6 separate regions of the Homo sapiens genome follow, and all the other regions are linked to region 1. The links are contacts of gene promoters, found by promoter capture Hi-C in blood cells and fetal thymus (Javierre and others, 2016). All regions are on one chromosome and are shown on one strand. The core of a region is centred on a gene start or on the middle of the fragment in contact, and the rest is flanking DNA. Distances in the headings are between cores, read along the strand shown. Region 1 holds the start of PIK3C2A (phosphatidylinositol-4-phosphate 3-kinase catalytic subunit type 2 alpha). Region 2 holds the start of IGSF22-AS1 (IGSF22 antisense RNA 1). Region 3 holds the start of LDHA (lactate dehydrogenase A). Region 4 holds the start of MISFA (mitochondrial sheath formation associated). Region 5 holds the start of HPS5 (HPS5 biogenesis of lysosomal organelles complex 2 subunit 2). Region 6 holds the start of SPTY2D1 (SPT2 chromatin protein domain containing 1).

What was found. Contacts are between HindIII fragments. The CHiCAGO score rates a contact against its expected background, and 5 or more counts as called.
Region 2: a contact is called between the fragment with the promoter of IGSF22-AS1 here and the fragment with the promoter of PIK3C2A in region 1, in 8 of 17 cell types (fetal thymus, activated CD4 T cells, total B cells and 5 more). The highest score is 20.7, in fetal thymus.
Region 3: the fragment with the promoter of LDHA here is called in contact with the fragment with the promoter of PIK3C2A in region 1 in 10 of 17 cell types (fetal thymus, activated CD4 T cells, M0 macrophages and 7 more); the score reaches 16.6 in fetal thymus.
Region 4: the fragment with the promoter of MISFA here is called in contact with the fragment with the promoter of PIK3C2A in region 1 in 2 of 17 cell types (M1 macrophages and M0 macrophages); the score reaches 7.2 in M1 macrophages.
Region 5: a contact is called between the fragment with the promoter of HPS5 here and the fragment with the promoter of PIK3C2A in region 1, in 7 of 17 cell types (total B cells, fetal thymus, M0 macrophages and 4 more). The highest score is 11.9, in total B cells.
Region 6: a contact is called between the fragment with the promoter of SPTY2D1 here and the fragment with the promoter of PIK3C2A in region 1, in 5 of 17 cell types (fetal thymus, total B cells, erythroblasts and 2 more). The highest score is 12.6, in fetal thymus.

What each region holds. Positions count from the first base shown.
Region 1 is chr11:17,206,714-17,210,250 of GRCh38, reverse strand. It overlaps PIK3C2A (phosphatidylinositol-4-phosphate 3-kinase catalytic subunit type 2 alpha), which reads left to right and starts at 2,265. Exons shown (of 33, transcript NM_002645.4): 1 at 2,265-2,403. RefSeq lists silencers at 2,117-2,196, 2,547-2,806 and enhancers at 2,337-2,446, 1,952-2,474, 2,475-2,998. The HindIII fragment of the contact is 7,601 bases long and covers 1-2,304 here.
Region 2 is chr11:18,705,174-18,708,819 of GRCh38, reverse strand. It overlaps IGSF22-AS1 (IGSF22 antisense RNA 1), which reads right to left and starts at 2,339. Exons shown (of 3, transcript NR_186353.1): 1 at 1,671-2,339; 2 at 1,427-1,542. IGSF22 (immunoglobulin superfamily member 22) reads left to right here. Exons shown (of 23, transcript NM_173588.4): 19 at 525-613; 20 at 824-1,016; 21 at 1,607-1,906; 22 at 2,674-3,003. The HindIII fragment of the contact is 1,081 bases long and covers 1,274-2,354 here.
Region 3 is chr11:18,392,335-18,395,872 of GRCh38, reverse strand. It overlaps LDHA (lactate dehydrogenase A), which reads right to left and starts at 1,310. Exons shown (of 8, transcript NM_005566.4): 1 at 1,237-1,310. RefSeq lists a silencer at 405-454 and enhancers at 1,215-1,304, 685-1,350, 1,615-1,704, 1,351-2,015. The HindIII fragment of the contact is 13,104 bases long and covers 1-3,538 here.
Region 4 is chr11:18,598,447-18,602,009 of GRCh38, reverse strand. It overlaps MISFA (mitochondrial sheath formation associated), which reads right to left and starts at 2,221. Exons shown (of 4, transcript NM_001355570.4): 1 at 2,013-2,221; 2 at 830-918. The coding sequence starts at 2,081. It overlaps LOC112268073 (a long non-coding RNA gene), which reads left to right and starts at 2,463. Exons shown (of 4, transcript XR_002957242.2): 1 at 2,463-2,579. The HindIII fragment of the contact is 4,225 bases long and covers 1-2,850 here.
Region 5 is chr11:18,320,790-18,324,306 of GRCh38, reverse strand. It overlaps HPS5 (HPS5 biogenesis of lysosomal organelles complex 2 subunit 2), which reads left to right and starts at 2,167. Exons shown (of 23, transcript NM_181507.2): 1 at 2,167-2,361. It overlaps GTF2H1 (general transcription factor IIH subunit 1), which reads right to left and starts at 1,740. Exons shown (of 15, transcript NM_005316.4): 1 at 1,567-1,740. RefSeq lists enhancers at 1,763-2,182, 2,193-2,492, 1,383-2,582, 1,720-2,669. The HindIII fragment of the contact is 9,902 bases long and covers 1-3,517 here.
Region 6 is chr11:18,632,088-18,635,598 of GRCh38, reverse strand. SPTY2D1 (SPT2 chromatin protein domain containing 1) reads left to right here and starts at 1,257. Exons shown (of 6, transcript NM_194285.3): 1 at 1,257-1,401. The coding sequence starts at 1,342. It overlaps LOC105376578 (a long non-coding RNA gene), which reads right to left and starts at 1,250. Exons shown (of 2, transcript XR_931097.3): 1 at 638-1,250. RefSeq lists an enhancer at 767-1,036 and a silencer at 2,093-2,272. The HindIII fragment of the contact is 3,460 bases long and covers 1-2,561 here.

The DNA.
Region 1 (3,537 bases), core at 1,016-3,515:
CGGAGGTTGTGGTGAGCCGAGAGCACACCATTGCACTCCAGCCTGGGCAACAAGTATGAGACTCTGTCTCAAAAAAAAAAAAAAAAAAAGTGAAGCCAGTGGAAGAAAGGAAACAGGAGAAATGGTTGCCAGCTATGTTCTAGTTGGTTCCAAATGACAGCAGCACCAGTTTGTACTGTCTCCCAGAAGTCTGTGTTCCTACTGTTTACACATGCATCTTCACAAGCCATTGCTGACAGATGAGATATGCTGAGAGAGGGTTACCTGTTCAGATTCTTGACACCTGGCAACTTGTGAAAGCTAATTTTTTTGGAATCTGGAAAACTATCAAACTCCTTTTCTTTCTCTTCACCTTATTGGGAACCTTTTGGTTGATCAGAGCCTACCATGTATCAGTCATTCAAAAGCTATAATAAAATAATGAATTCAGAACTGCAACAAGGAAGTGACTCAAGGACCAGGGCCCTCTGCTGCTGAGACTCAGGGGAAATACGTTTCATTAAAAAAAAAAATTAGAAGAAAAAATCCAGTCTGTCTCGCTGGATCAAAAAAAAAGAAAGGAAGAAAGAGAGAGAGGGAGAGAGGAATAAAGAAAGAGAAAGAAAAAGAAAGAAAGAAAAAGAAAGAAAGAAAGAAAGAAAGAAAGAAAGAAAGAAAACAAAAGAAAAAAAAAAGACAGACAAATAGTTACTCTTTCCTGAAGACTCAGTGTTCTCCCAAGGCCTCTTCCTTCTTTCCTGAAGGCACACTCAGATCTGGAGCAGAAGCTAGGAAGCTACCCTGAGATAAATCACTTTCCCCACCCTTTTTAATCTTGTGAAAGAGCTGCTGCCAATTTTAGAAATTCCTCCTTTGATCAGAAGATAAAGCAGAACAATGCTGCGGAACTAAGTTGATTTCTAAGGGACATTCTTCTAGAGTGTGTAGCCTGCCTGGAAGTGTGTGTGCATAGAGGAGGGGCGGGGTTGGGGGAAAGATAGGAGTTGGAAGGGGGGGGGGTGTACAACAGCCAGTAGCTACAGCCGTAAGAAATAATCACATTTGTTTCTAGAATTCCCCATAGAATAGAAACTCCATCCAATTTTACCATCCCTGCGGAGGTGCAGGCATGTTTATTACAGCGCTATGAGGGATTCATCCACTCCACATTCCCCATTGCCCTAGCCCCCTTTCGCCAACCCCCGTCCCTGCCAAATCAGGCCAATTTCTTTCTTTCCAGTTATTTGCTGAAAGTTCAACTTCTCTTAGAGCCTTCTAATTATGCGTATATCATATAGGCTGATAATTTTTAGTTTAGGCTGAGAAATGCAGCCTAAATCAGTCTGCCACATCAGATTGTGAACGTCTGGATGGTGTGGACCCCCTTCTCCTACTGCTTAAAAGACAATCTTGTTGTAAAACGCTATGGAATCGTTCCTCTCCCCTTAACATCTTTGTGCCCCAGAAGCCCCATCTGTAAATGGGGATAATTTTCCTATATCTTCCCATGGTTACGTAATTTTTAGATCTAACACGTGAGGACCAAACGCTTTACAAGCATAATCTCATTAAATTCTCAATAAGAATATATTATTATGGAGGTTGCATGTGAAAATACTTTGTAATGTAGAAAGAGCCGTCTGGCTGTGAGTTATTATCAGGGGGTTATCTTCCTTACCTGGCTGTTGTGAGGATGAAACGAGACGCCGACCTGAAAGCGTTTTACGTGCTATCAAGCATTTTACAGAAACCACGTGATAGGCTACTAATTACCCACCGTATACCACCTGACCCACCGTGAGGCCTCGGTAAATACTGGTTGGAGTGGACGAGTTTAAGTCTTGCCTGTTCCTTTCAGTCTTCCAATCACAAAGTAATCTCGGCGCCGCCAGGGGCCAAGACACAAATCTGGGAACCTCAGCCTAGATGGAGGAGGGTGCGGGGTCCCGGGAGAGGGGATGAGAACAATAGGGTACTTCAGTGCCCGGGCCCTGTTTAGCGGGTCTTCGGACTCAGGGCCCGAGGGGCGGCCAGCTGGGGTGTCCGGAGAGCTCCCCTCCCCAGGTCTGGGGTGTGCACGGAGAGGCGTCCAGAGCCTGCTCAGCATTCCTCGGGAGAGAGCCAGACCCTGGTCCCCCGGGCCCGTGCGCCCCAGCGCCCCAGCTCCCTTGCTCACGCCACCCCGGCAGCGTCCAAGCCCCGCCCGCCAGCTCAGGTAGGCCGTCCGCGCCAGCCAATTCGCAACAAGTCCGGGCGGGGAAGGCGGTGCTTCCCTGTCCGGAAGTGACGTGCTGCGCTTGGCTGGCTGTGGAGTCGGCCGAAGCTTTCGGCGGCGGCTGAGCCAGCTGAGGGGAAAAATGGCTCGGACTGTGGCGGCTTCGGCGGCTCAGGTTGTGGTAGAGGCGGAGGCTCAGGCAGCTTGAGGTGAGGAGCGGTCGGTGCGGCTGGGGACGATATTCGGGGTCCTGCTCTGCAAGGGTGGAGAGGGGCCCCGGGGTTCCCGGGCTGGAAGGGTCTCTTGTCGCGGCCCCCAGTGCCTTGGGTGCCCGCGTCTGACCCTCCATCCCGTGCTCTTGGCGTTGCCCAGCCCGACTCCCCCCTCCCTCCGGGCCTTGCTTCCACCCAGGCCGTGAGCAAGTGCTGCGCTGGAGGTGCGAGGAGCCCGCGTCCCCACCAGGCCCCTCTTCTCGGGAGCGGAGGTGCGCCAGGGAGTTAGTTTTGTCCCACAGAAGGAGGGCAGGCCCCCCGGCCGCCGGCCCCCCTCCCCCGCCTTGTCCCGCGGGACCGGGCTGGAGCCGCAGTGGCCGGTCCTATTTTCTTGGCAGATTGTTAGTTCTGGCGAGTGTGTGTGTTGTACTTCTCAGTGACGGCCCCTTCTTTCACCTCCTGTCCCATCTCTGGCTCTGGGGGCCAAGGATACTTTTTCTTCTTCCCGGACCCCCCACTCCCACCGCGTTGCCTTTAGCCGCGAATCCACTTGCTTTGGGAACACTATTCTTTCAGTGTGTATTTAGCGCATCATCCTTCTGAGAGAGCGGTCAGATTAAAAAATACTAGCTTAACTCTTCCTGAGTGACGGAGGAATCATAAATAATTGAAGAAAAAGGCACATACTTATTTTCCTCACTGAATTTCTGGCTTTAAAAACGACATTCTCTAGCTGTGGAATTATTTTTTGGGGGAGGAGGGATTGAGGAGGGAAATGAGGAAGGAGAAACTAAGGAAAAAAGTCTGGACATAACGTGGAAGAGAGAGCCTGTTGTAGTTCTTTTCCTATACTGGCCCGATAGAAATTGAGGTTATAATTATATTCTTATTTTGAACAGTGGGGGTTTGAATTAAGTGAAACGAAGGAGGCCTGCCTCTTTGAACAAGATTAGTTATTAAAGAATGTCCTGAAATCTTTCCTGGTGGGTTTCAGGCAGAAAAGCTCTGTTGGGAAAATTTTTAAATCTATTGTAGCATCAAAGGCCACAGCATATAAGAGATGCAAGAAGAAGAAAGCTGTTTGTAGGGGAACGGTGAAGACATAGTAGAAAGAGGGAAGGCTGCACAGAA
Region 2 (3,646 bases), core at 1,090-3,589, 1.5 Mb before region 1:
GTAATCTTTTATGTCTACACCTTAGCAGAATTCAGGCTCCTCACATCCTCCTAACCTGGTGGCCTTTCATTAGCTTCGCAAAGGTGATTTAGTTTGGGGGAAGACTGTTATCATCTAAGCTATAAACTAAATGTCTCTCCCAACATTAGCTTGGTCTGAAACCAGGAATGATTAAGGGCAGTTTGGAGGGTAAAGGCAAGATGGGGGTTGGTTAGATCAGATCTCGTTCACTGTCATAATTTTCTCGCTGTTATAATTGTTGCAATGGCAATTTCAAAAGGAGGTGTTAGGGTTATAGAAACAAGACACAAGGACTTGCCTTCCAGGGTCTTGCGTACTAGTAGAAGGAGACAGATGAGAAAACAAATAAATGCTTCACAGGGTTGCAGGGCAGCTAGATGTCTGTATGGCCTGTAGTGGGGGCATAAAGGAGGAGAGGTTGGGAAGGCTTTGATGAGGAGGCTTAAAGCAGAGTCTTCTTGAAAGACAGATCCATGCCTCCACCTCTGTCTCCTCCATCTCAGCTGCACCCAAGTTTGACCTCAGTGCCCGGCTGAAGAGTCACATGGTGGTTCGCGCTGGGACAGCCCTCTGCATCCATGCAGCCTTCTCTGTGAGTTGTCCCTGACCCTGACCTCCATACACTGTCCACATAACCAAGATGGCTATTGTAGCCATCACAGTCTCTGACTCTGACTCTGACTCTGCCCCTCACCAGACCCCTAGTGCGACAGCCTGGCAGGAAACTCCTCGACAATGGAGGAAGGCCTGCCCCCAAATATCATCTGTGTGACCAGTTGTGCCATCTCCTGTCACTACTCAGGGCTCACCACCACCTGACGTGATCTGGCAGAAAGATGGCGTTCCCACCAAGGGCCGAGAGACAATTACCAAGAGCAAAAACCACTCCCAGTTCCTCATTAATAGCACCAAGCGCTCTGACTCAGGGGTGTACCGAATCTTGCTTCAGAATGAGTTTGGAGAAGCACGCTATGACATCCATGTGCGCGTGGCAGGTATGGAGAGAAGGCAGAGGCCTCCAAGACCCATCCCTGTACACTCTCCAAAGCACAGCTCCCCAGTGCCGCTTGAGTTCCTACCACAGGAAAGTCATGCCTTAGGGCCATGAAGATTTCTTTGACACCACAGAGCAAGACTTTATCATACAGAGTATGGTCGGCAGAGAGAGTAGAAATGGGTGGAGGGGCAGGAGGGACAAATGGAGATGAATCCATTAAAAATTGGGGTGACTGCTTAAAGAGAGCTGGAAGCTTTAAAATAAAGCTCTAAACCCCCAAGGAAGGAATGGATTCATTTTTACTGAACAGTAACTACATGCCAGTCTCTTTACCCACTATTTCTACGAAATAGTCATTGTCAGCTCTATTTTGCAATTGAGGAAAGAAGTCTCAGATAAGTAACTTACCCCAGGTCACGAGGCTAGTAAATGGCAGAGCAGACTTCAGAAATAGTTTTCCGACTCCAAGACACCAGCTGCCTGAGACTTGCCCCATCTTATCTTCCATCGGACTTGGCAGATGGCTGGGGTGGGGACATAATACTTCAGGTGCCCCAAGGTCGCTGACAGATCTTCCAACTCTTCCAGATTTCCCTCGGCCCCCCACAAACCTACGGTTGTTTGAGGAAGTCCCCAACACAGTGACTCTGACCTGGAACCACAGCCCAGATGTGCAGGAGGACGGTGAGGCTCACTACATCATCATGAAGCGGGATGCAAGCACAGCCACCTGGTACACGGCAGCCGAGCGTGTCTTCAGCAACAAGTACACAGTGACGGGGCTGCTCCCAGGCAGGAAGTACTACTTCAGAGTGGTGGCTCGGAATGAAATCGGTGACAGTGAGCCACTTGACTCCAGGGACACCTGGCTCATCAATAAGGACCAGAGTGAGTCTGGGACTTGCAGTTAGGGTTAAGTCTGGGTGCCCTGATGGTGGGGATGACATAAGGGTCCCAAAGGGTACCCAAGAGGCAAGATAAAATCTGAAAACCATTGAGATAGAACGGTTAATATCTGGGACGCTGCGGAGAGAAGGAAATATTGGCTTTCTTCGGGGTACTTAGGGGTGAGACTAAAGTGGAGGTGGGGAGGTACCTTTGGGGGCAGAGAGGACGGTGGAGGGGCTGCGGAGGGACATAGAGCGCAAACGCGTTCTGCTCTGAGGGGAGGGTCTAACGGGGCTGAGAACAGGGGAGGGCTCTAGGGAGCCGGGAGGATGTCTGGGATCCCTGGAGGCTAGGGGTTAAGGGTGGGGGCCGCGTCGGGAAACTCGAACTGAGGAGCTAAAGGGATAAGAGGGGAGACTGTGGTCGCTGATATGACGTAGGGGAAGCTTGGAGGCGGAGTTAAAGGCTGGGAATAACCGGGTCCAGGAAGCTGGCGCTGGAATGACATCTCGGCCCCAGGGGTGTGGGAAAGCGTGGTTTGGGTGGCAGAACCCTGGAGTGGCTGGGGACGGGGCTGGGGGGTCGGGGGAGGCCTGGGGGCGGGTGGGGAGCCCTTAAGAACCAGTGTAACATTGGGCCCCCAGAGTTGGTGGCGCTGGGAATGTGGCCTAGGTCCTCGGGGTTCCGTGTAAGCTGAACTGTAAGACGTGGGTGGTGGGTGGGGGCCTTGGGGCGCCCTCACGGCCTGCCCCGCCCCGCCCGCGCAGTCCAGGACCTGAGCGCCAAGCTCAAGCCCTACGAGAAGAAGGACTGGCGCCACGCGCCGCGCTTCGTGACGCCCCTCAAGCCACACACGGTGCTCCGCGGCCAGGACTGCACCATGACCTGCGCCTTCCTTGGGAACCCGCGGCCCACAGTGACCCTCTACAAGGGCGACGTCAACATCACGGCCAACTCCAAGTTCTGGTACAACTCCACCAGCGGCGTGTGCACCCTCGTCATCCCCACCTGCACGCTCAAGGACAGCGGCGATTACAGCGTGCTGGTGGAGAACGAGCTGGGCAAGGACCGCAGCAGCTGCACGCTCACCGTCTATGGTGAGGGCGCCGCGGGGTCCGGCCTCGAGGAGGGGGAGAGGCGCAAAAGGCTGGTCTTGTGGGCCATTGGTCAACTATTTGGCTGGCACCGTTTTTTAATCTGACTGCCAACAGGTGGTGCAAACATTCTTAATTGGCCACAGTTCTTACCACTCTCCCATCCTTTCGATGTCATTTGTTATATGCCTGGCCCCTGCAGACATGAGAGTTCTCAATCCCTAGATAAGATGTGGTTTGCAACTCTTGGTGAGCCTAGACCTGCCTTCAGAAAAAAGATACTGGTGATCAGGACTCAACCAGACTCACCAATCACGATCTCTCTGGCACGGTTCTGGAAATAACCTATATGTTTACAAAATTTTGCGGGTGATTCTGATGTGCAATAAAAATTAAAACTGGTCTAGGATAAGGACCGGTGGGGGGCACAAACAAGGGAAGGAGCGAAGGGAACCCTCCCTTTTGTACATGCATGCCATGTTTCTACTCATGTGTGCACACATAGGGGGAAGCATTTTATTCCTTCCCAGTCTACTGTCTTCATAGCCACACAGCTAGCAGCATGAACTCTAAATGCAAAGCTGGCCTGCCTTGCTTTCTGTTGCTTAAATTTCCCCCAGCTTTCCTCTCATGGTAAAATCCCAAA
Region 3 (3,538 bases), core at 61-2,560, 1.2 Mb before region 1:
TCAGGCCCAGTATGAAGAAATAGTTTCAGTACAGGGAGTGTAGAAATAGCTGCAGAAGGCCTGAGGCCTGCAGCCCTAGAGTTAATAGCTACTTGGTGGAACCCTCGAATTCTTTCCACCTTGTTAATCCAACCCTGCACTGCATTCGCTGGAGGAAATATCACAGGCTGCATCCCCAAAGTATCACGTCTAGTTTTGACACCACTCCAAAGGGCAAAAATCCGAGAGGACCTCTAGGCAGGCAGTCAGCCCAGAGTCACCAAGCTGGAGCCGGGTCTCTCCTTACAAATCACTGCTATTTCTAGACAGCCTTGTAAGGTTTCTAGCCTGGCAGGGGGAAGGGAGTTCCTGCGGACACCTGCTAGCTTCACTGAACGGCCCCGGGATCCAATGCTACCTTTAATGTAGGGGCGGAGGTGGGAGGGCATGGGATGAGGGAAGGGTGCGTCTAGAGGCGAGAGACATGCAAAAACGAGTTCTACACCTCACCTCTGCCTCCTACTCACTGGGAACTTAGAGATCCCTGACTGTCTCCTAGCTTTCGGTCTCCCTATTTGTTAAAAGGAGGAGTTGGTACCGGCGGATCCTACTCAACTGACCGTCTGAGGTGCGGAAGGGCTGGGATGCTGCCTGCTTCATCTTTGCATGCGCCGTGCCTAGCGCAGCCCGAGATACACCAGTAGCTTCTTAATAAATGCGCAAAGGGCTCCCTATAATCTGCAGGCAGCAGCTGCCCTCACGGAGCCCACCTCTCGAGCGTCCCAAGAGAAAAATGCAAGCCGCGTGGTACTCAGCCGCTTTCCGTCTTTCAAGAACCCGCCCCGGACAAGCTGAGGCTTTTTTGGCTCTATGGGCTCCGAGAACTGGACCTCGAGTTTTGCACCGCCCGCCGATTTCGAGCCCAGAGGTATCCCCCACCCTTAAGGCCTATCATATCCTTGTTCCGCATCCACCCGGGCTTTCGACCCCTGCTTGGGTGCGGCCACCTCCTCGGTTCCCCAGCGTGGCCAGAAGCCATGGTTCCCGCTTAGAGCAAAAGCAGAGCGCGGCGAGCTCCGAACACATGCGTTGTGTGGGCCGCCGCCCAGACGTCTCTGGGCTGTGCTTCTGGAAAGCGGCTCCTACACCTCCCGGGAGCAGGAATCCCTTCGCGAGCAGCGGAGGCCAGCAGAACCAGAGGCAGTTGGCTCTACCCGCCCATCCCTCTGGCGCCGTGCGCGCAGGGCCCTACCGTACCGGGAATGCACGTCGGGCGGTCGTCGGGGGCGCGTGGCAATGAGATCCGGAATCGGCGGCAGCGGCTGCAGCACTCTGAGCTGGGCGCGGGAGGGGCCTTAAGTGGAACAGCTATGCTGACGTCAGCGGGGGGGGCCGGCGGACGTGCGGGAACCCACGTGTGAGTCGGGCTGGGGGTGGATGCCGAGCCAGGCGGGGCACTGGAGAGGCCCGGGTGGCGCGCGCAGCCAGACAACCGACCGGCAGACTGCTCCACGTGCGCTGGGAGTCTAAGTAAGGTGCTGCCCTCCAACCACAGAAGCCGGGGTCGGAGCCATGAGCCTGAGTCAGGACGACCTTCAGTTTCCTCATCCATGAAACCTGGGGAGGTTACTCTCAGGAAGGCTTGGATCTGTTTCTTCTTCATCCCTGTTTCTCAGTGTCCAGAACAGCTTCTGGCACGTAATAGGCACTCCACAAATATTTGTTGAACGAAAGGAAGAAAATGCCTAGCAGTCAGTCAGTCTGTTCTTACCTAAGTCGAGTGACCTCCAAAACTCGACGCTGCTTTTCCCTCTGCTGCTAAGCCTACCAGCTCCCACTCACAGTGAAGCCTTGGCCTCTCAGGCCTTGCAGGGTGACTCAGTTCAAATGTACATTTTATTCTGCACTTTCTACTGCCCACCCCACTGGCATCTCATCTCGAGTCTCAACCATACCCAAGAACTGTCAGTGGCTTGTTTTTTTGGTTTTGGTTTTTTGTTTGTTTATTTGTTTTTTGGTATTTTTCGAGACAGGGTCTCACTCTGTCACCCAGGCTGGAGGGCAGTGGCGTGATCATGGCTTCCTGCAGCCTCGACCTTCTGGCTCAAGCGATCCTCCCACCTCGGCTCCCCGAAGTGACTGGGACTACAAGCGCGCCCACTTGCCCTGCGATTTTTTTTTTAATTATTAATTTTTTTTTTTTTGAAACGGAGTCGCTCTGTCGCCCAGGCTGGAGTGCAGTGGGCTGATCTCGGCTCACTGCAACCTCCGCCTCCCGGGTTCAAGCGAATCTCCTGCCTCAGCCTCCTGAGAAGATGGGATTACAGCCAGGCGCCACCACGCCCGGCTAATTTTTGTAATTTTTAGTAGAGACGGGGTTTCACCATGTTGGTCAGGCTGATCTCAAACTCCTGGCCTCAAGTGATCTGGCCGCCTCGGCCTCACAAAGAGCTGGGATTACAGGCGTGAGCCACCGTGCCCAGCTCAATTTTTTGTTTTCTTATCATACTTACCTCTGGGCCTGTATTCTTGCTGATTCCATTGCCTAGCCCGCCCTCCTCCATCTCTTCTTTAATTTGTACCAATACTTCCCCACTGTGGGGTATATTATGAAATATATTTGGTAAGCCCTTGAGTATGCCAAAATTTCCTGAATTTTCTGATAGGAATGTCTTTTGTTATTTATAAAGAGCCTTTTTCCCTGACTTAATGTTAATGAATGAGGAGTCTTAGATAGCCTCAGGAAGGAGCCAGTCATGGGAAAGACCAAATGATTAGGGAATTAGAGGGCTGGAACTTTCAGCCCAAAGGGGTGGATGGCTTTACTTACTCCCTGAACCTACAGCAGCAGCCCAGTGCAGCTTTGAGATAGATCCATAACTGAGTTTCTTGGTTTTGACGGAAAACTCTAACCTCAGCTCCAAAATAGCACAAGGGGCCAGGTGCAGTGACTCATGCCTGTAATCCCAGCACCAATGTGGTTGAGGTGGGAGGACTGCTTGAGGCCAGGAGTTCGAGACTAGCCTGGGCAGCATAGTGAGACCCTGTCTCAAAAAAAAAAAAAAAATAGCAGGGCATGCTTGCATGTTCTAACAGTTTTCCCATCACTCTAGATTCTAAGATCACTCTAGGTTCTGAAATGGGGCTCTCACCTCAAACACACAGCTGGAAAGTTTAGGGGTGGGCCACTGATTCTTCAGAGTACCTCAGGGCAGGGCAGATTGCCACAGTGTTTTCCGGTTTCTCAGTCTTTGCAACAGTGTTCTCAGTCAGGGCTGGGCCCCTGCCTGCCTACCAAATGTGACCACTGCTGCTGGGAAGAGGTGTGCAGAAGGCAGAGAGCTGAAGTTGGCTGGGGAGACGAAGAATTTTCACCTGAAAGGCTTGGGTTGGGGCACTCTGAGATGACCTGTGAAGATAAACTAGGTAGAGTCTTCATTCCCCTAATTTATGATACCTAGCAACAGCTTGCTCCAAGCACAGCTTCAGGCTTCTTAGGCAGAACAACAGCCAGTATTTGACTCCACAAATATGAATAAAACAAATACCATTTACTGAG
Region 4 (3,563 bases), core at 972-3,471, 1.4 Mb before region 1:
CACCAGTAAATCTTTGTTGACTGGTTCATTATTTGCTTGTTGTTAAGTTAGTATTTTACTAAATGCTAATTTTTGAGCTTTGCATTAAATGCTTTACATTAATTCCCAAATATAATCTTCACAAAAATAGTGATATCTCCTGTTGTACAGAAGAAACTTCGAAACTGAAGTTCAAAGAAACTAATTAAACTTTCCCAAGGTCACGTAGCTAGAAAGTCACAAAGTTAGGACCTAAACCCAAGTTCAATGTTAACTCCAGTTTCAGTATCTGCCAAAAGGGACGTTAAAAATGCTGGTCCTGGCAAGGCACGGTGGTTTATGCCTGCAATCCCAGCACTCTGGGAGGCCAAGGCTGGGGGACCACTTGAGGCCTGGAGTTCAAGACCTGCCTGGGCAACATAGTGACACCTTGTCTCTAAAAAAATAAAAAAAAAATTAGCCAGGCATGGTGGCATGTGCCTGAGGATCAGCTACCCAAGAAGCTGAGATGGGAAGACTGCTTGCACCTCACTCCAGCCTGGGTGGCAGAGCAAGACCTGTTTCAGAAAAAAAAAAAAAAAAAAGAATGCTATTAATAGTATAATATATTACAGTGTTGTGAGGAGAAAAATAATAGATGGGAACAGTCTTCAAAACAACACCTATGAGACATGGTTATTAATAGACAACTTTGGCCTGCTGTCCTCAGCAGTACTCACCAAATCATTTCCCCTTCCACAGTTTATTATATTTTCCAGAGGAATAAACATTCTCCACTGAGACTTCAGGGTGCTACCAAGTACTTTGGAAAGGGAGGAATCCAACCCACCAGACCTGACCACCCACTTACTGCAGCAGATCTTCACCTAAAGCCCGCCTCCTCAGTTGTGTTTTGCTCTCCTGAACAGGCCACCTCTCCTGCCACTTCAGAGTTGGAGGCTGAATCAGAAAGAAAATTTGAGGGCAGAGATGGCTCTACTCATTGGCCCAGTGGGTAACCACTCTGTGTGGTGACCAGAAGGGCTGCTAAAAGGTCCCACCAATCCCTACCGTCCCCCTTCCTACCAATAACCACTGATCCACTTGGCCTGCAATCCGCAAGTCAAATACGGTCTCCAGCAGACCCCTTGCAAATTCCATAGTGCTTTGAAACAAGTACAGCTATATATGCAAGGGAGGGGGAAACAAAAAAAGACTTAAAAGGATGTCCTGGCCGGGCGCAGTGGCTCACGCCTGTAATCCCAGCACTTTGGGGAGCCGAGGCAGGCGGATCACGAAGTTAGGAGATCTAGACCATCCTGGCTAACACAGTGAAACCCCGTCTCTACTAAAAATACCAAAAATTAGCCAAGCATGGTGGTGGGAGCCTGTAGTCCCAGCTACTCGGGAGGCTGAGGCAGGAGAATGGCATGAACCCAGGAGGCAGAGCTTGCAGTGAGCCGAGATCGCACCACTGCATTCCAGCCTGGGCGACAGAGCAAGACTCCGTCTCCAAAAAAAAAAAAAAAAAAAAAAAAAGGATGTCCCCAGCCAGGCGTGGTGGCTCATGCCTGTAATCCCAGCACTTTGGGAGGCCGAGGTGGGTGGATCACCTGAGGTCAGGACTTTGAGACCAGCCTGACCAACATGGAGAAACCCTGTTTCTACTAAAAACACAAAATTCGCCAGGCGTGGTGGTGCATGCCTGTAATCCCAGCTGCTCAGGAGGCTGAGGCAGGAGAATCGCTTGAGCCTGAGAGGCGGAGGTTGCAGTGAGCCGAGATCGCGCCACTGCACTCCAGCCTGGGCAACAAGAGCAAAACTCCATCTCAAAAAATAATAATAATAATAAATAAAAAATAAAAAAGGATGTCCCTAGTGGGATGGGAAGTAGCCCGGTAGCCTGGGACACTAACTTTGTTCCCATCACATTCTGACTTCCAGTTAGTGGTGAGACCTCAACTATCTTTCCCATTTGGTCAGAAAACCCAGACAGGAAGATGAGCCAGCACAGGACTGACCACCAGGGATTTACAGGCAGAGCCATTACTTACCATCAACTCTGGAAACGTGCCCATGTAACACACAAGTCCAACAAAAAACATCCAGCCAAGCACAATCATGATCAAACGTAAAACAATTTCTAAGATAAAATTGCACAGTGAAAGACTATTCACCAAGATCTTGGCAAAGGAGTGCGCTCACGAAACCTTCAGTTGGTAGAGGTCTCGCATGTCTGTTCGAGTCTTTGGCTCCAAAGGATCCACAACTCCCTAGTGGAGAAGCTGAAATCTAGTAGGGCATTGTGACATCATTGACCATATGGCCCAGACTCAAAACACACCAGAGACACTGCCCCCAGACCAGCAGCTGAGCAGCAAACAGCAACACTATGAAGTAGGCATTATTGTTAACCCCATTTCACTAATCAGAAAACTAAGGCTTAGACTACAGCCTAAGTGACCCGCACTACAGCACATAGCTGATGCTCCAGATCAGGGCCAAGACTTAGGACTCAGCTGCCTCTTGGGCAGCTGGGCTCTTTACACTAGAGGCAGAGATTTGGAAAGGTGTTTTGCTGCTAGGTGTACGACATGTGAACGAAACAAACTGAATTACAGGTAAATGAGACAGATGTCTCTATTTCTGTCCCTGCAAAACCTCCTCTCCCCATGTCAAGGGGATCCTCAGCATGATGGTATATCCACATCTTCATCACCTTGGATTAGTTCCTCTCCATTGATTCTCTTTTCTTGGCCATCATGAAGCCACAGGTACCCCTGTCCTTTCCTCAAAAAAACTTCCAGATGATACTGTGGCTCCTTCCCTGTCTTATTTCTTAATTTCCTTTTATGACCAAACTTCCTAAACAAGTGGTCCATACTCAAAGCTTTTTCCAATCTACGCCTCTTCCATGCATTACATTCTGACTTCTAGCCCCACCCCACTATTAGACACCCTCTCAGAGGTCACCAAAGATATTTTTTGCTTTTCTGCTACAACATCATGGACATTTAATGTATTTTTCATCTCTACAATTTTTTTTTTTTTGAGACAGAGTCTTGCTCTGTCGCCCAGGCTGGAGTGCAGTGGTGCAATCTCAGCTCACTGCAACCTCCGCCTCCTGGGCTCAAGTGATTCTCCTGCCTCAGCCTCCCAAGTAGCTGGGATTAGAGGCACCCGCCACCACGCCTGGCTAATTTTTGTATTTTTAGTAGAGATGGTGTTTCACCATGTTGGCCAGGCTGGTCTCGAACTCCTGACCTCAGGTGATCCACCCGCCTCAGCCTCTCAAAGTCCTGGGATTACAGGCATGAGCCACCGCGCCTGGCCTGTTGTGATATTTCCTGCTTCTTTAAATGTCTTACAACTTTTGATTAGATGTTGAACATGGTAAATTTTATTGCCGAGTGCTGGATTTTGTTGTATTCAACAGTGTTAAATTTTATTCTAAGGTGCACTTAAGTTACTTGCGATCAGTTTGATTCTTCTGAGGCTTGTTTGAAGCTTTATGATAGGCCAGGAGCAGCCTTTACTCTAGGGTTAATATCCGCACTGCTGAGTTAATGACCATTTTCTCTGAGCACCTTCTCTGAGGCTGATTG
Region 5 (3,517 bases), core at 918-3,417, 1.1 Mb before region 1:
TCAAACTTACCAATCTGTTGCACTGCTACAAGTCGGCTGAATGGCCTGGTCAACATGGTGAAACCCCGTCTCTACCAAAAATACAAAAATTAGCCAGGCATGGTGGCGTGCGCCTGTGATCCCAGCCGCTGGGGAGGCTGAGGCAGGAGAAGCCCTTGAACCCGGTAGATGGAGGTTGCAGTGAGCAGAGATCGCGCCATTGCACTCCAGCCTGGGCAACAAGAGCAAAACTCCGTCTCAAAAAAAAAAAAAAATGTCGGCTGAGTGAGGATAGCAGACCATCTCTTTTTTCTCCTTTCTGAATGAGGGACTTAAGCCTGCTAACAGGTACAAAGTTCTCTCCAGAGTTTAGTCCTTCTCTAAGTCCAAGGCCTGCTACTAGAGGTTACCTTCCCTGCGGTTGTGACCTCTCCATCTCAACTGCTCTGGTTTTGTCTTTTAAAAAATCTTAAGGTTGGCAACTTTGGCTTAATTACCTAAGTCCAGTTCAGTGGTTTTCAAACTGTGTTCCAAGGAGTGGCCTCTAGGATAGAAGTTAAGTGGGGTGGTGGGGCCTGGCCCTTTTAAATTTAGTTCCACCAGAGCATGCTGCTTTATATATTGGGTTCCAGATAAAAATTCATGGGGAGAAATTGTTCCACTCCTTTAAAATGTTTGAAAATCACAAGTCTGGATATTGGTTTGTATGGAGTCAATACTCACTGCAAAGCACATTTCATTCAAACCACTCAGTTTTTTTTTTGTTTTTGTTTTTAAGACTGGGTCTTCAAATGGACAAAGGGTGTATTTTTCATATCTTCTTTCCCCATCCCCATTTTACTGATGCTAAAATTGGAGTTTAGGAGTCATTTGGGGCCAGGCACTGTAGCATAATTCTGGCGCTTTGGGAGGTCTAGGCAGGAGAATCGCTTGAGCCCAGGAATTCGAGGTTACAGTGAGCTATTATCACGCCACTGCATTCCAGCCAGGACGACAGAACAAGACTCTGTCTCTTAAAAAAAAATAAGAAAAGTCACCTCCTTATTTAATTTGGCCTTTGAGAACACTGGGGGATTTACAAAATAATTACATATATCCAGGTACTCATGGTCTATTTTTCATCATTACACGACAATCAAATGACCAAAACTAGGAGTGTGTGGACTGGCACGTGTTAAGGTTTTTAAGAGAGGTAAGATTGACAGGTGGAAGCAAAAGGTGTGCAGACAACAAGGTGACAGCTTTTCTCTTACAGAATCCCAGACTCAACAGCACATTTCCTGACGGGAAGGGCTTCTCTGTCTGGGAGAGGCCTCCACTTCATTCTCATAAGCCAAATCTGATCCTGGCTTTGGGTAAACCTGCTCTCAATTTAAGAGCAGGTTTCCTTTAGACAAGTAGATTAGGGGTCGCCTCTTCCTCGCCTCGGGATAAGGGCAAACAAGACGCCAGGCTTGGGCGTTGGGAGGACGGCGACAGCGACGCTGGGAACAGGGGTAGAATCCACGCCGTCCAGCGGCCCCCAGGCCTGTCAGCTCCTCACCCGCCCACCCACCCGCCCGCCTGCATTCTTCGGTCTAAACTTACCAGGTGGAAGCTACAACTCTAGACAGGAAGTAACTAACTGGGTTGGATCCGGTCGAGTTCCGCTGCGCTTCTTAGAGCCGCTGCTGGGAAGAGGCCGAAACCCAGTGGCCGCAGCAGTAGCCACCGCCTCTGTTACTAGGGGGTCTCGCCTCCATCGCTGGCTGCGAGGAGTCTGAGGGCACGTGACCGGAAGTAGCAAGGCGGGCCCTGGGCACGTGACTCAAGAGCGCGGCCGCCATGACACCTTCCGCTAGTTCCCTCCCTCCCCCACGGGTTCCCGCCTGTTTCGTTTCCTCTCTCCGGTCTCGAGCGGCGAAGGGTCCTGGGATCCTGGCTGGCCCAACCATTTGGCCTAGAGCTCCTCCGGTTCCAGTCGGCGCCGTGTCTCCAGCCCGCAACGGCCCTGCGGTCGCAGGCCGTAGAGAGCGTAATCGCGACCGCGGCCTGAGGGGGAGGGACCACGCGGAAGGAGGGGCGTGACTCGTCACGTGATGAGGAAGTGCCGTTAGTAGCGTTGTTTCCAGTCTGCGGCTCTCCTGGATGACGTCAGCAAGGAAGGGGAGGAACGCGAGGGGAGACTGAAGTTCACGTTCCGCTCTTAGTGCGCGGTGAGTTCCCCGGCGCTAAGCCGGGAGACAAGATCCGATCTACTGAGAGCTGCGAGGTACTGCCCTGGATGTGGTGGAGCTGGGCTGGGACCTCCGGGCTGCTGGTCTGTGAGCCTGGCTTTGAAAATTGGTTACTGGGTCTCCTCTCAAGAAATCTCAAGATATTAAAGTTACTGCTGTTAAAAAGGTAGTAGTTCCACTAGGCAAGGAGCTTTTTGTGGGTAGGGATTGTGTTTTGTTCATCCCTGTGTCTCTAGCGGTGTGTTCAGGTCCTGGAACATAGTAGGCACTCAGAATGTTGAATGAATGAATGTATAAATGAGTCAGTCGCCATTTGTCTGAGGCAGAGAGTTGTTTTCTGATCATTTCTTCTTGGATAGAAAGATCCCATTGTGAAAATGAGGCAGTCTGCAACTTCCCCTTCTCATTTCTTCAATTTTTGCTATCTTTCTTACTTCTTTCTCCTCTTCCTCCACGCACCTACTGGGGCAAAAGAGAAACATGTTTGCATTTGATGTGTGAGCAACAAACACTGAACTATTTTACGATAATGGAAAGATGAGATTTGGATTCAGGAGACGCGTATTCTAATCTCAGCTCTACCATTTATGAACTCTGTGATCCTTGGGCAAGCCAGTCTCCCAAAAGTTGTTTCATTTACTTTGGTTAAGCATTTGTCGCCAACTTCTATGTTCTTAGTTTTTGGTAGAGTGCCTTCACAGAAGTAACATTTAAACTCAGCTTTGCAGAAAGGTAGGGTTTTGGTAAATGGGGGAAGATTCCATAAACATCATATATTAAACCATGGAGGCACAGCAAGTTTATGGAATGAAAAAGAAAAAAAGAGTCGAGTCCAATGTAGTTGGAGAATAGAGAGGTTAAGATGGGAAATAAGGCTGGAAAAAGAAGCAGGGAGGAGATAACAGATTTTCAAGAAATAGAGCTGTTGAAGGCTTGTACAATATTATGTATATATTTTTTAAATTTTATTGTGGAAAATTTCAAACGCAGACAAAAGTAGGATAATAAATTGAACCCTCATGTACACTTAACGCAACTTGAACAATTATCAGCATTCTGCTGTTCCTCTTTATACTGTTTGTACATTTCTAGGTACTTTTTATATCCATTGTTGCATTTGATTAATAGCAGCTTTCAATTTGAGCTCAGTTCTACTGTATGTAGCTACTGGCTAAGAAGATTTTATTTATGTAAACAATTTCTTTGGGTTTTAGTTGACCACTTGCTCTGTTGAATCAATGTGTAACATGGCCACTTAAACACAACTAATACTGTTTTTAGGTTGTAATATAGAAACTTAGTGTCTAGATCCAGGAAGTTAG
Region 6 (3,511 bases), core at 8-2,507, 1.4 Mb before region 1:
TGCAAGCTCCGCCTCCCGGGTTCACGCCATTCTCCTGCCTCAGCCTCCCAAGTAGCTGGGACTACAGGCGCCCGCCACTACGCCCGGCTAATTTTTTGTATTTTTAGTAGAGACGGGGTTTCACCGTTTTAGCCGGGATGGTCTCGATCTCCTGACCTCGTGATCCGCCCGCCTCGGCCTCCCAAAGTGCTGGGATTACAGGCGTGAGCCACCGCGCTCGGCCTGTCTAGCATGTTTTAACAGCTTGACATATTTACATACTGTATCATTCTCACCCGTCTTAAGTGTACGATTTTTAGTACATGTATAGTGCAACCATCCCCACAATCCAGTTTGGAGGCATTTCCATCCCACCGAAAAGATCCCGAGTACCTGTTTGCTATCAATCCCCTGGCGGGTTCCCACTTGCAGACCCAGGTTTGCCTAATTATTTTCAGTGTTTTTGCTAAGTCGAAATGACCTTACAGATCCAAGATAACTCTCCAAAAGAAGTCAGGACTAGGATCCCAATGAATATGAATATGAAGCATATGTTCATCAGTACACCAAAGTTATGTCAAGGCTGGGTCTGTATGTGAAATTCCTTAATCCATTGCCTGAGCAAAAACACAGGTTGGCTGCTCCACATAAAACTTACTTTCTAAACGGGGCAAAAGAAGTAAGCGCGTGCCCCCATCCCCGGCACGCGTGCATCTGAGTAGGAGGTAAGCGCACGGCATGTGGCCGAATTTGATGAGTAATGGGCATCCAAGACAGGACCACGGCGCTGCTGTGTGCGCCTGCGCAGCTTCGCGAGCGCCTAGACACAAGTAGCCCAAACCCCGGCTCGAGATCCGTCTGTTCAGCTGTTGTGGCGCCGCCGTTTTGGATCTAAGCGCCTACCCGTGACACCCAGAGAACCCAGGCCTGGCAAGTAAACCCTCTACCCCCTCACTTTCTCTACCCAGCGCTCACAAGGAGCAACAAGATGACAAGACCGCGCGCCCGGGCCACCAGGGAAGCCGCTCTCTCGCTTAGCCACACCCCCTTGGTTGCTAAAATGCCTAGTCCCTGCCCCTCGGGTCGACGCCAGCAGCCACGTATCACGTTTGTACGTGTCTCGGCCTAAAAGCGGAAGTTACGCAGGGACTCGCGAGCGCTGTGGCGGCCCTGAAAGGATATAGGCCGTGGAGGGAAGGGGGCGGGCAGACGGCATAGGAAGGCGCCGGAAGTGGTCCCGCAGAGGCGGGGTGGGAGTGGGGCTCCCGAGGCAGTGCAGTTGGCTGTAGCTGGGCGCCTCGGTTAGGTGCGCTGTCAGTCCTTTCCGAGTGCCTGGCCCAGTCTCTCCCGCCTCGGCCCAACATGGACTTCAGAGAAATTCTCATGATAGCTTCCAAGGGACAAGGTGTCAACAATGTGCCGGTAAGTAGCAGCTGGGGCATCAATGTAGGGGACCCTAGTCTTCCAAGTTCGGAATGTGTGTGGCCCATGGAACTTCTGGGCAGCCGCCTATCGGCTCCGGGAGAGGAAAGACCCGGACGCCTTATTTCCTTTTCTTGGGTTTATACTCTTGGGAACTCGGGAGAAAAGAGCTTGGGACGAGACGCGGGAGCCTTCCTGTGAATGGGTTTCGCCGGCTTATTTACCCCTGCAACAGGGACTTTGCGGTTTGGGTGTTGTAGCTAGAATTGCGTGAAAGCCGTGAGTGAGCTGTGCCTGGCACGCTGTGGATTCTAGCGCTGGTAGTTTTTGGCTTCCACATAAACTTCAGCCTAGAGATTGGGAAGGAAATATGTATGTAAGGGAGTTAGGGGGTTTGGGGTCCTTGGCTTGATAGCTTTTTGGCTGGCTTCTCATCGATCTTCAAGTCAAACGTTTAGCGATTTCTTGAAAGAATTCTCTGACTCGGCCCCACCCACTCAGCCACCGAGGTGATTAAATTATCACCTCCCAGGGGATAGGTATCATCTTTTGGGAAGAGAAGTTTAGCAGATTCCACGAAATCCTTGGCCAACAGAATAGGTGAGCTAGTTTCAGCTTCTGTTTACTTGTAGCCTTCCAGATTTCAGTCTTTGTTTAAAATCTAGGTCCCATTTGGTCAGTAGATGTTTGTCAGTTCGCTTACAGTCGCAAGAGCGGTGTAAGACTTAAATGGTAAAGTGGTGGAGAGCGCCTGGTTTCTGGGGGTTATGGCTGTTTTGCATAAGCTAATCATTTCCAGATTTTCAGATGGTACCCACAGCACAGCTGTAAACCGATAAGTTGCATGGTGATGCCTGCGGTTTGAGCAGTGAGGTATAGAACTAAAACGGCTCTCAAAGTCAATTCAGCTAGAATTTATTGAGCTCCGACGAAGTGCTCTGCATTTCCTAGATATTCGTATATTGCAATATTCGTTTTTTTCTCTTCTGCAGCTTTTTTTTGTCTTCTGAGGCTAGTTCATTCTTTTATCCCTTTGAAAATATTGATCTGAAAAAGGTCTATATTTATGTTTATAAATATATGTATATATACACACACACAGCCATCCCTTATCCCAAGAACTCTGAATAACCATTCCTCTAAGCCGTGAGTCATAAGCTTTGCATGTTGAAGGTATAGACTCAAACCTTTGAAACCCAGATCAACAGATTTACTTTCTAGAAGCATCTGTAAATTTTCCAGATGAATCAATATTGGGTCTAGTAACCATTCATCTTTGCATAATTTGGTCTGTATTTCATTCTAGATCTTATTGAATTTCAGTAAAGGTCAAAGATAGTACTAGCTTTGATGCCCAGTACTGTTCTGTGGAAGAATCAGAACTAAGTCATTTCTTATTCTGAAAGCCAGTAGCTGCTGGGAGAAAAGCAGACAGATAATCCTAAAGCAGAAAATTTCAAAATATGTGTATATGTCATAATATATGCATTATCTATGATTGGAATAACAGAAGAATCAAAAAGGGGAAAAAAGTAATTTAAAATTTAATAGATGGGCGCAATGGCTCAGGCCTGTAATCCCAGCACTTTGGGAGGCCTAGGCGGGAGAATCACCTGAAGTCAGGAGTTTGAGACCAGCCTGACAAATATGATGAAACCCCATCTCTACTAAAAATACAAAAATTAGCCGGGCATGGTGGTGTGCGCCTGTAATCCCAGCTACTTGGGAGGCTGAGACAGAATTGCTTGAACCCAGGAGGCGGAGATTGCAGTGAGCTGAGATCGTGCGATTGCACTCCAGCCTGGGCAACAAGAGAAAAACTTCATTTCAAAAAAAAAAAAATCAATAGATAATATAGCCATATATTTTATGAATCATGCATTCTCTGACCTCTCCCCGCCAAAGCTAGTAAGCCTAGAAGTTTGATTTAGTTACCAGCATTATAATTCTTATCTTTTTATGTGGAATTAAAGTCACAAAAGAAACTATTGAGGAATAGGATAAGACTGTAGTTAAATTTCTTCTTCTTCTTTTTTTTTTTTTTTAAGATAGAGTCTCACTCTGTCGTCCGGGCTGGAGGCTGGAGTGCAGTGGCATGGTCTCGGCTCAC